Linked DNA regions of Homo sapiens: regions 1, 2 and 3 are each linked to region 4. Evidence: promoter capture Hi-C in 16 types of primary human blood cells and fetal thymus (Javierre and others, 2016). All regions are on one chromosome and are shown on one strand. Each heading gives the region's core, a stretch centred on a gene start or on the middle of the fragment in contact. The rest is flanking DNA. Distances are from core to core; before and after follow the strand shown. Region 1 overlaps SLC16A10 (solute carrier family 16 member 10). Region 2 overlaps SLC16A10 (solute carrier family 16 member 10). Region 3 overlaps RPF2 (ribosome production factor 2 homolog). Region 4 holds the start of SLC22A16 (solute carrier family 22 member 16).

Evidence for each region. The method cuts DNA at HindIII sites, captures the fragments that hold promoters and counts their contacts. A CHiCAGO score of 5 or more calls a contact.
Region 1: a fragment that was not itself captured here is called in contact with the fragment with the promoter of SLC22A16 in region 4 in 1 of 17 cell types (endothelial precursors); the score reaches 6.8 in endothelial precursors.
Region 2: a fragment that was not itself captured here is called in contact with the fragment with the promoter of SLC22A16 in region 4 in 1 of 17 cell types (M2 macrophages); the score reaches 7.3 in M2 macrophages.
Region 3: a contact is called between a fragment that was not itself captured here and the fragment with the promoter of SLC22A16 in region 4, in 1 of 17 cell types (endothelial precursors). The highest score is 5.0, in endothelial precursors.

What each region holds. Positions count from the first base shown.
Region 1 is chr6:111,211,784-111,214,502 of GRCh38, reverse strand. All of the region lies in intron 4 of SLC16A10 (solute carrier family 16 member 10), which reads right to left. Among named protein-coding and RNA genes, the nearest start is that of SLC60A2-DT, 46 kb to the left of the region's middle. The HindIII fragment of the contact is 551 bases long and covers 1,059-1,609 here.
Region 2 is chr6:111,228,053-111,230,752 of GRCh38, reverse strand. It overlaps SLC16A10 (solute carrier family 16 member 10), which reads right to left. Exons shown (of 6, transcript NM_018593.5): 6 at 1-2,700. All of the region lies in intron 2 of SLC60A2-DT (SLC60A2 divergent transcript), which reads left to right. Among named protein-coding and RNA genes, the nearest start is that of SLC60A2-DT, 30 kb to the left of the region's middle. The HindIII fragment of the contact is 2,317 bases long and covers 258-2,574 here.
Region 3 is chr6:111,024,919-111,027,784 of GRCh38, reverse strand. It overlaps RPF2 (ribosome production factor 2 homolog), which reads right to left. Exons shown (of 10, transcript NM_032194.3): 10 at 1-2,382. The coding sequence ends at 2,203. Among named protein-coding and RNA genes, the nearest start is that of RPF2, 44 kb to the right of the region's middle. The HindIII fragment of the contact is 648 bases long and covers 1,075-1,722 here.
Region 4 is chr6:110,475,308-110,478,200 of GRCh38, reverse strand. It overlaps SLC22A16 (solute carrier family 22 member 16), which reads left to right and starts at 1,588. Exons shown (of 8, transcript NM_033125.4): 1 at 1,588-1,679. The coding sequence starts at 1,627. It overlaps LOC105377938 (a long non-coding RNA gene), which reads right to left and starts at 2,684. Exons shown (of 2, transcript XR_942860.3): 1 at 2,539-2,684. The HindIII fragment of the contact is 6,876 bases long and covers 1-2,893 here.

The sequences.
Region 1 (2,719 bases), core at 85-2,584, 740 kb before region 4:
CCTGGGCCACAAGGAGCACATGCCGACGCTCGGCAAACTATACATATAGCAGGTTCAATGCTTCATCACTCCCCAGAATAAAGATTGATCCAGGCATCAAATACTGATCTGGTGATGCTGGGACTCAGTGTGAAAGATGAATAAACTTAGTATTACATACAATCTTTTAAAACTTGCTCTCAAACACAGCAGCTCTGGTTAGATTCGAGTAAGGAATTCACAGGCTCCTTATTTTCTCCTAGGCTCTGGCACTGACACTTAATAAGCCAGTGACAGTTTAGATGTCTATATTGCTTTTGTTTTCTTTAAGGAAATATATCATAAATATATAATACTTGTTATAATAGTACAGGCTATAGAAGTATTAACCTTCTATGAGTTAGTGTATGCACATGAGAACAAAAGATTCCTTTTGCTCTTACTTTTCCCATTTCTATCTCAAGGAGAGCATTGCTGGAGAAATGTCAGTTTAGGTTTTGCTCAAGAATCTTAAGTGTAGCTCAAGAGGAAACAATGAGCTGCACCTGAATAAAAGAAGGCATCTTGGAGATAGACATGTAATTGACGTTCCTAAAGTTTAGCCCATATAAAGTCTCCAGACTTTCAGAACCTCTGGCTAGGCACCCAGGACAGAAAACAGTTGGCAACAGAGTTCTGCTGGCCCATCACAAACTAAAGGAAAATGTCAGGCCACACAGCAGGTGGCTGGATTCTTCTGAAGCACACAGAGGCCAGTGTCACTTCGAAGTGCTTCACAGGGAGTCTGTCAACCTTCTCCATGGCACATGGTTACTCTCACTTCTGCCTGATGGAGAAACATGCATTTGATACGTTCACACCCAGTGCCACAGTCTAGATGAGACTGAGTACGGAGCCTCTGATCATTTACTTAGGCTGGGAAGTTGTTAAGTATTTGGATTTACTACTTTGGAAATAGCTTACATTTGATAAAGTATATACCCTCATCCCAAGATATCTTTAGGCAAATGTAAAATGCTAAAATGGAAAATGGAGCAACACTGATCCAATTCATTCTACCTGAACCGGAAGAGGAAGCTTAGGCAGACTGATGGATAGGAAAGTCATTAATATTTCTACATTACAAAAGTAACTCATGAATATATTTTTTAAAATTCAAACCTTAGAGAAATGTACACAGTAATATATGAAAGTCTTCCTACAACCTCTTCTCACTCTCAACCCATGCCCATTCACCTCCTCAGGAATCAACACTTAACAGTTCGGTTTGCATCCTTCCAGAGCGTTCCTGTGCACATGTGTGTGTTGTCTGGGTTGTCTGCTTTATGTGCATGGACATGATGTCCATGCTTCAATATGTCCATGTCACAGAGAAATATGACACAATGGAAAAGTGATCTAAATTCCAAGTTTTCAATTCTTTCATACACAGTTTTAACTTTCAAACCTTTGAAATATTCTCACCCTTCCAAAACACTTATATATTACATTAAAAACACAAATCTGTAGTAATTTAATGGTGACTAGAAACACAGGCCTATAAGATTAAGAAAATAGTAAAAAGATACCACGACACACGTAGCTTCTCCTGTCCCAATAAAGTATATATTCTGGGAACTTTTGCAAAGCTTTTCTTTAACCATTATTATTCTACGTAATGCACTTCAGTCATCTCTTCTGGCAGGAGCAGTAGACTTGACTCAGCATTTTTTTTTATTTTTTTATTTTTTTGAGACAAAGTCTTACTCTGCCACCCAGACTGGTATGCAGTGGCATGATCACAGCTCACTGCAGCCTCAACCTCCCCAGCTCAAGCAATCTTCCCATCTCAATCTCCCAAGTAGCTGGGACTACAGGTGTAGGCCACCATGTCCAGCTAACTTTTTAATTTTTTGTAGAGATGAGGTCTCACTATGTTGCCCAGGCTGGTCTTGCATTCCTGGGGTCAAGGGATCCTTCTGCCTTGGCCTCCCAAAGCGCTGGGATTATAGGCATAAGCTACTGCAACCAACCACTCAATATTTAGAATTATTAGGTTGAAAACACCTGGGACCCAGGACCTTGATGGAAGTTTAAATTCAGAACTCTTAAGCAAAAATGTGAGATAAATTCATAAATTCTTTGTTACCTATAAGCAAAGACTCTAATTCAGGATTAGACCCTAGTCTCCTTTCTTGAGACCTATTCCAAATCAGGATCTGCTTTCAGTATTTAATAAGATATTAAAACATAACAGATGCAAGGATTTATTAATCATCCAGTCTGGGCTAGGCACTTTACATAACCTGCCACCAAGAATCCTCACCACAGCCCTCTGCTGATTCTCAAGTTGGTGGTAGAACTGGGGTGAACTGGCTTCTCACTCCAGAGCCTGTGCTCTTGGGCTCGGCAGCCTCCTAGACTAGGGATTACCATGATCTGAAACTAGACCATGCGGGAGGGCTATGAAGTGTGTCTGTGTCACCAGTGTTCTAGGCCTGGCTGCTACTCAGAACTGGCTTCCAGGGGACAAAGAGGGAAGAGTTGTCACAGCCCCAAGAAGTTGAAAGATGAAAGCAGGGAGCAGGTATGTCTGAGAAAACACACCACCAATGAATGGAAAGAAGGTAAGCCCAGGAGCATTCCAAGCCTTAAAGGATGGGCCAAAAGGCAGAGAGCCAGGGATGGAGAAAAAGGAAGGAACAAACAGGCAGAGCTGGAGTCAACTGCAGCAGAGAAGAGCCAAGAATCAAAAACCACA
Region 2 (2,700 bases), core at 167-2,666, 750 kb before region 4:
CAATGTCATATTATACTAGGAGATACTTAAAATATCCACACTCTCTTTCAGTAATAACTACAGGGTTCAATTTGTTGTAGCTATAACTTTAAGGCTAAAATAAACTGGTGGAAGAACAAAAGCAAAATGCAACTTTTATCAAGCATTGTGCAATGCCTCTACAATCTTACACATCTCAAACCACATTAAGTTACATCAGAAGTTATTATTAGAGTGATGTTTAATCTCACCCTAATGTAACTTCTGATTAGCAAGCTTCCATTCTCTCTGCCAAATATAACTCATGTTAACGTAGAAAAGTGTTATCATTAGTTACCAGAGCAAATCCAGTGTACTGGATTGTGAATGCATAGTCTTTCTAATTAGGAAAATGAGAGTGTGTATTGTCTTCTTAATTTACATTTATAAAATCCTCATAAAATACAGTTAAGTCAGGGTCTTTTAAAAGAGAAGAATTCAACTGAAACCTGTCATTCTCTAGCCGGGCATGGTGGCTCATGCCTGTAATTCCAGCACTTGGGGAGGCTGAGGCAGGTGGATCACTTAAGGCCAGTCTGGCCAACATGGTGAAACTCCATCTCTACCAAAAATACAAAAATTAGCCGGTGTGGTAGTGGGCACCTGTAGTCCCAGCTACTCAGAAGACTGAGGCACGAGAATCACTTGAGCCCGGGAGGCGGAGGTTGCAGTGAGCTGAGATCGCGCCACTATATGGAGCCTGGCAATAGAGCAAGACTCCATCTCAAAAAAAAAAAAAAAAAAGAAACAAAGAAAGAAAAAGAAACCTGTCATTCTCAATTCATCTGAATCCTACCTACAGAACATTAAAGAGACCCGTATGTCTCGAACTCCTGGCCTCAAGCAATCCGCCTGCCTTGGCCTCCCAAAGTGCTGGGATTACAGGTGTGAGCCACGGCGCCTGGCCAAGGAGACCCATATGTTATTTTACTTAGGTGTTACACAATCAGACCAACGATGGTGCTGAGAGCCCTTGATAAATCATAGACCTGAGATTTGCTGACAGTGACCCAGCCGCAGTACTTATTGTTTATGTTAAATCTGAAAGACAAACAATGATACTTTCAGTGATAAATTTCAAATAATTATAAAAATATAACTGTGCAAATAACTCATTATCCATGTTTTAAGATTGATGACTCTCAAAACTCTGATTTTAGCCTGAAAGTTGCGAAATAGTTTCAAATGTCCAAATGTCTACATAAGCCAGCTCAATAGGAAGCTATTATATATAACTTTTTCACATTGCCTCAAAGTTACAGAATATATTTAAATCCCTCACTTTGTGCTAGAAACATTGACAAGGGACTTTTTCTTTAAAATTATTACCTTGGGAGGTTGTGTTCATTAGAACATTCTCATTTGGTGATCATTTTCTTGTGAGTTTCGTAATTTAAAGTCTTATATGTTAACAAAAATTGCATACCTCTAACTAGATACTGGAACTCAATAATCACTGTATAGGTGAGCTTTTTTCCTCAGTCATGTATATAACATGCAACATGCATAACGTTGCTGGCTGTATACATTTTCTATTGTGTTGTATATTAATATTTTTAAAAGAAAAATAATTTTGAAAGGAACATGAAGTATAGCACCAATCTTGATCTAATAATCTTTGGTAGAAAAAAAAGAGGCACCAACTATACAGTCTGTTCATAGTCCAGGGTCAAAATGCAGCACTATTTTTTTTTTTTTTTTTTTTGAGACAGAGTTTTGCTCTTGTTGCCCAGGCTGGAGTGCTATGGTGCAATCTTGGCTCACTGCAACCTCCACCTCCTGGGTTCAAGCAATTCTCCTGCCTCAGCCTCCCGAGTAGCTGGGATTACAGCATGGAGCCACCACGCCCGGCTAATTTTGTATTTTTGGTAGAGATGGGGTTTCTCCATGTTGGTCAGGCTGGTCTCCAACATCTGACCTCAGGTGATTCGCCTGTCTCGGCCTCCCAAAGTGCTGGGATTACAGGCATGAGTCACCGTGCCCGGCCCAGCACTATTAATAACAAACCCTCCATTCCTGAAATAACATTTCAATATAGACTGAATTATGAAAGATACTTTGACTCATTAGGGAAGATCACAGTAGAAAGGTTTTGTGTTTACACATTTAAAATATTTAACAAACTGACTCTTCTAATGACGGATACTGAAAAATATCTAGTAAAGAATAAAAGTCATACATCACAGGCTCCAAAATAGTATTACCAATCTAATTTGAGTTCTAAGTGTTATTTTATATTGGTAGTTCCTATCGCATACATGTTTAGGGACATTGAACTCCAAAATACTCTTTTTATAGCACTCATATTGAAAGGCAAAGCAACTTCTTTGGGTAGACTGGGTTAACTCCTACACTATTGCCACACTCAAGAACAGCATTTTAAAAAACTCCAGTGAGTCAAAAATTCATTGTCCCAGTCCTTGTTCTACTAGGAAGGAGTGTCTCTTACAGGAGTTTAATGTGTAAGTTGTCAGGTTTGGGCACAGCTGTACAATCTGTCATCACTGATCATCTACCCTCTTGCCAATGAAAACAAAACTTTTTCATAATCAAGCTTCCAGTGTAACTTGAAAAGCCACTGGCGAAGCATTCTAAGTGTTCATTAGAATCTGAGTGTGTCTAATTTAGAATCTAAGTGTATCTAGATTCTGAATTTCTTCAGGTTTTTCTTTGTCAGATCCA
Region 3 (2,866 bases), core at 149-2,648, 550 kb before region 4:
GCAAATAGGAAGCATTCCAATACTTATTAGATCCTCTACCATCAGACACAGAAATTACCTAGAAAACAGAAATGTATTGCCAAATCTCAAACAAGAGGGCTGATTAAAACAAACAAAAACACCCTTAAGACGTCTCACATACAGAAATCATGGCCATCTTTGGGTTAAGATTGGCTGATTTTCCAGTAGTGCTGGGGTAGGTCTTCCTGATAGAGGGGTCCAGGCATGGCAGGGTCCCGTAAGCGGCTGGTGAGGAGGACCCACTGCTTTGCCTCCTACCAGTGATGAGCGAGGCTTTGGGGAAGGACTATGCGTCCATCACTCCTGATGTTCTTTTCATGGCTCCCCTTCTCAGCTATTGTCCATCTACCTCCAGATGGCAGCAAACGACTTATCTGAGCCCCTTCTTCTCATTTAGATATAAAGTGCAAATGTCTGATTCAGGTACGAGACTGTATGGTCTTTGGTTAAACGTATAATCAAACAAAAAGTATAAATGATACCAGCTCCTTCATTTTTCTGGCAAGAGGAGAGTAACAGCTATCCGGAGAGGACTAGGGAAAGCTAAGGAATGGATTCAAAAGAGAAGGGAAAGGGTAGAAGGTAAAGCTGAGGCTCGAACTTTTGCTTAGTGCCAGCATTGTTGATCTGTAGCTGAGCAAGCTTACATAAAGGCATGTATACACAGGCACGGAGCTCTCTAACATGGAATTGAAGTGAAACCCTGTCTCTACAAAAAATCAGCCAGGCGTGGTGGTGGGTGCCTGTAATCCCAGCTACTCGGGAGGCTGAGGCAGAAGAATGCTTGAACCTGGGAGGTGGAGGTTGCAGTGAACTGAAATCGCGCCACTGCACTCCAGCCTGAGCGACAGAGCGAGACTCTGTCTCAAAAAACAACAAAAAAGAAAGCACTGGTACTTCATGTAACAAATTATGATTTGCGTATGTCTGTACCTTTACAACATTACTGGCACTTGTATAAAGGAGATTCCTTGTCAAGGACTGAATCAAGGAACTTAACACCCTATTCCAGAAAAACAAGTATGCAATACTAGTAGAAGGAAGAAGAAAGCTTCTGTTTTCCTAGGCACAAGGCCTGTCTTCAAGAAACTTTCAAAACAAGTAGTTAGGCTTTGGCTGGCTTCTACACCATCTGCAAACGCCCAGGGCCTTCATGCAACCTTTAGCTACCTAGGGCTACCCAGTACCCTAAAGTGCCCTGCACCTTAAAACTCACCTGTTTTCTCCTTTTTCATTTCTGCCCCTATCAAAACTTCTTTTCTGCCAGGTGCAGTGGACCAACATCTGTAGTTCCGGCTGCTCAGGAAGGTGAAGTGGGAGGATCACTTGAGCCCAGGAATTTGAGTCCAGCCTGGGCAACACAGCAAGACCTCATTGCTTTAAAAAAAAAAAGTAGGGCTCAGTGGCTCATGCCTGTAATCCCAGCTACGTAAGAGGCTCAGGCAGGAGGATTACTTGAGCCCAGGAGTTCAGGGCTGCAGTGAGCTGTGATTGTGCCACTGCACTCCACCCTAGGTGACAGAACAAGACCCCATCTCTTAAAAACAAACCAACCAAAAAACACAGGTTTCGTCTCAGAGAAGCGGGGTGGGCTCTACTTAGTAGTAGAGTCTCTTAAAACAATCAACAGTAGTGTAATTTATCAATAATCAGATAGCAGACATCCCTCTCAGAGATCTATATATTTTCAGCCACAAAGCTTAAAATCTCAAATGTCAACGAGTAGGATTTCAGGCAAAATAAAAGTAGAAAATAAAAATCAGAATGTAGATCCATGTTGGGAGAGGAGGTTAACTTTCCAGGTAATTCATACTGAGATTGTTTACACAGCTCCTGCGGGTCCGGCTTTCTGTGGCTTTCTTTAGCTAAGGCCAGAAATTCAAAAAAATCCCAATGGTTATGGAGATCCCTCCTCACCCATCCATCCACCCAATGAGAAAGAAGAATTTGTGGAGGGCAGGGGATATCACAAGAGAAAATGGCACACCAGGGTGTAATGTCTCAAATAAAAGGCTTACTTTACACTTAATACTAGTATATTACTGTTCATAATAATATATCGTAAAATTATCATGTTATAAAAATATATAATAAGATCTTATAAGAAACTCTGAATGGATTGACGCTTGATAATTCTCTTAAGTAGAACACAATGAAACAGTAGTGGCTGGCTAAGTTCCATCAATTTTTTTTAATTCTTTTTGACTTTTTCTCGTGGTCTTCTGTTATCCTTTCTGCAGGTCGCTTCTTCAACCCCTTCATTTTCCTGGTTTGTAGTTTGCTTAGGTCTTGCTTCTGCATATGAATCCTTCCATAAGTTGTACCAAAAGTATCATGGGAAATATTTTTCTTCTTCTTTGGCTACGATAAAAGAATATGTATATATTTAATGGCCTTCTACTATAATGAGCCAGTAAAAATCTAGTCTGTAACAACTATCTTAGTAGCAATTTCCATTAGTGCCTGCCCCTTCAGTGACACAGTATATAGCCCTATACACTTTTCTTCTCAAACTTAAGTGTGCATACAAATCACTTGGGATCTTGCTAAAATACAGATCCTAATTCAGTATGTCTAGGGTAGGGCCTGATATTCTGCACAATTCCCAGGTAAACTGTCAGGCCACACTTTGAAAAACAAAACTATAAACTACACTAACCACTGTCACACATCAAGAAAATAGCCTGTGTTTAGCTTAAGAAGTTGTGACTATTGTTTCAATTTCTATTGGCATTTTAGAGATTACATTTCTTCTTGTCTTTTAAAACTACTTAAAAAGTCAAAACACATTTTATGCACATATGGTTTATATACCCTGTACTCTAAATCCTTAGCCTTTACAGTG
Region 4 (2,893 bases), core at 339-2,838:
TGACGAAGAGAATGCATCCCTGTTCTCTAGGAACTCAAGGTTTAGTGGCCTTATAGAGTGGAATAGCACGCCAACAGTGGGGCCAGTGACTGCCAGGCTGACTAGAGAAGGCAACTCTCACTGTGGATATAGTCGGAAACTGGCTTTTCTGCTTCAGCGCTGTGGACCAGCAATTGACCTTTCTTCCCTAAAGTTCATTCACTTGATACCTTCCAGAAGGAAGGTCACCCCCTGCCTGGGTTGGCTATGGGCCAAACCCCTGCCCACTCCAAAGTGTGGCTTGGAATGCCATGGTCTGCTTATTAAAAATCAGATTTCGGGAGGCCAAGGCGGTCGGATCACGACGTCAGGAAATCGAAATCATCCTGGCTAACACGGTGAAACCCCGTCTCTACTAAAAATACAAAATATTAGCCGGACGTGGTGGCGGGCACCTCCCCGCTACTTGGGAGGCTGAGGCAGGAGAATGGTTTGAACCCGGGAGGTGGAGCTTGCAGTGAGCCGAGATTGCACCACTGCACTCCAGCCTGGGCGACAGAGCGAGACTCCGTCTCAAAAAAAAAAAAAAAAAAAAAAAAAAAAAAAAAAAAAAAAATCAGATTCCTGTTCCCCAGGCATCCTGAATCATCAGGGATGGAGTCTCAAAATAAATGTACATTTATTTATTTTTTATTTTTGTATAGACGAGGTGTCGCTATACGTTGCCCAGGCTGGTCTCAAACTCCTTGGCTCCAGCAATCCTCCTGCCTCGGCCTCCCAAAGCACTGGGATTATAGGCCTGAGCCACCACGCCGGCCTAATTGTACTTTTATTTTTTTGAGACGGAGTTTCACTCTTGTTCCTCAGGCTGGAGTGCAATGGCACGATCTTGGCTCACCGCAACCTCCGTCTCCAGGGTTCAAGCGATTCTTCTGCCTCAGCCTCCCGAGTAGCTGGGATTACAGGCATGTGCCACCACGCCCGGCTAATTTTGTATTTTTAGTGGAGACGGGGTTTCTCCATGTTGGTCAGGCTAGTCTTGAACTCCCGACCTCAGGTGATCCGCCCGCCTCGGCCTCCCAAAGTGCTGGGATTACAGGCGTGAGCAAGTGCGCCCGGCCTTAAATGTACCTTTTAAACCAAGTTCTGCAGTAGATTCTTAGGCATTAAAGTTTGAGAGCCATGTTTCTGAGGGGCGTCATGCTGAAGGCTATATATTCTTGCGGCCCCCGGACCGAGCCTAGCCCTTGCATTCCCACCCTGGGCTCTCTCTCAGCGACAACTTTTCCCAGGCGTCGGGGCTTCCCTCGAGCGTGGCGACCCCGCAGACATGGTGCCAAGAGCCAGGGTGGGCGGCGGGGCGGGTGGGAGAGCGGCGGCGCTGGGGGCGAGGGCACCATGCGACCGCGGGCGCCGGGACCACAGCGCGCCGGGAAGGAGGCCGAGGCGGCAGGAAAAAAGCCGAAGATACTTGGGGGGACCGAGGGGCCAAGCGACGGAGGGAGGAACAGAATACAGCCTCGCGCTGGTCCCGAGCACTGGGACGCGCGGGGAGAGCAGGAGGCCGGGCGGGGAGGTTCGGGGCGGGGCGCGCTACCCGCAGTCCCCGGAGCTCGGCTAACTCGGCGCCCAGTGCACGGCCGCACCATGGGGTCCCGCCACTTCGAGGGGATTTATGACCACGTGGGGCACTTCGGCAGGTATGGGGGAGGGGCCCCGCGGCGCCACGCGGGAGGCGGCGCCGAGGGGTCTGTTTCTTTCCGTTGCGGCGGGGTTCTCGCGCGGCGCTCGCGATCCGAAAACATCTCCACTTCCTCCTCACCCCGCGCAGTCGGGACACGGGCGTCCAGACGCCGGCCCCTAGCTGGGCTTCTCCTCTAGGCCTCTGGCAGCGGGACCTGGCATGGTGAGCAGAGGCGCTGGGCTCGCTCGGAGTGCGCCTGTTGCCGGGCAGGAGGGACCTGGTGCGTGCTCTCCGCGGCAGCAGATGCTGGAGGCATCTGGCTGGAGATCTGGCTCGAGGGGCCAGATCTCACTCGTAGGGGGTGCCTGTGCCTGGCCGCCCGTTTCTCTAATCCGCCGCCACTTCCCTAGACGGCTGCTGCCCAGTTCTGCCCTGCGCCTCCGTAGGGCCTCCCTCTGTGCCTGGCAGGTGTTCCCCAGGGACAACCGTTAGTCAGAGTTGGTTGCCGTTTATTAAAACCTAATACGTGCCAGGTACACTGTACCTGGCGCTTACACATAGTTCTTCATTTGATGTTCACCGGGACCCTGCAAAGGAGGTGTTCAAATCCTTATTTTAGTGATTGGGAAACAAGCTGGCGGGGTCAAGGACTCATAGCCAACGCATGGTGGAACCACGTTTAACCTCCGTACACCCTCTTTTCATTTGTCAAATTGATTTAAAAAATTTAAATTATTCATTCGTTCGTTCACTCATGGACAGAGCTCCTCTATCTGACTCAGAGTGTTTTGAGAGGGGAGGTAGCCGGGTGAGGGGCCATGCAGCGTTATGGCCGGAGATTTGGAGCTGCGTCTCGATCCTGGCCTGCTACTTACCTCTGATATGATTCTGGAGATACTTTGTGTGTCAGTTTCCTATCCAGAAAACGGGAATCAGGCTTAGCAAAGAGATGATGTGGTGCTGTTCTTCAAGGTGGAAGGTTGCATGCGTTTTGGTTTTGATTCCCAGTGTCTGCAAAAAGGAGCTGTTAGGACAGAGGAAACGGGCAGGAAGCCCCAGCTGTTCCCTTCTTCCTCTGCTTGCATCATTGAACGCTGCCTTGTGCCTGGCTCGGTCATAAGCCGTTGGTACATGTTACTTCCTTTAATCTTCACTACAGCCTTATAAGGTTGGTAGTATCACCCTCTTTTCACAGATGAGAAAACCAAGGTTTCTGCCTAAGCACAAATC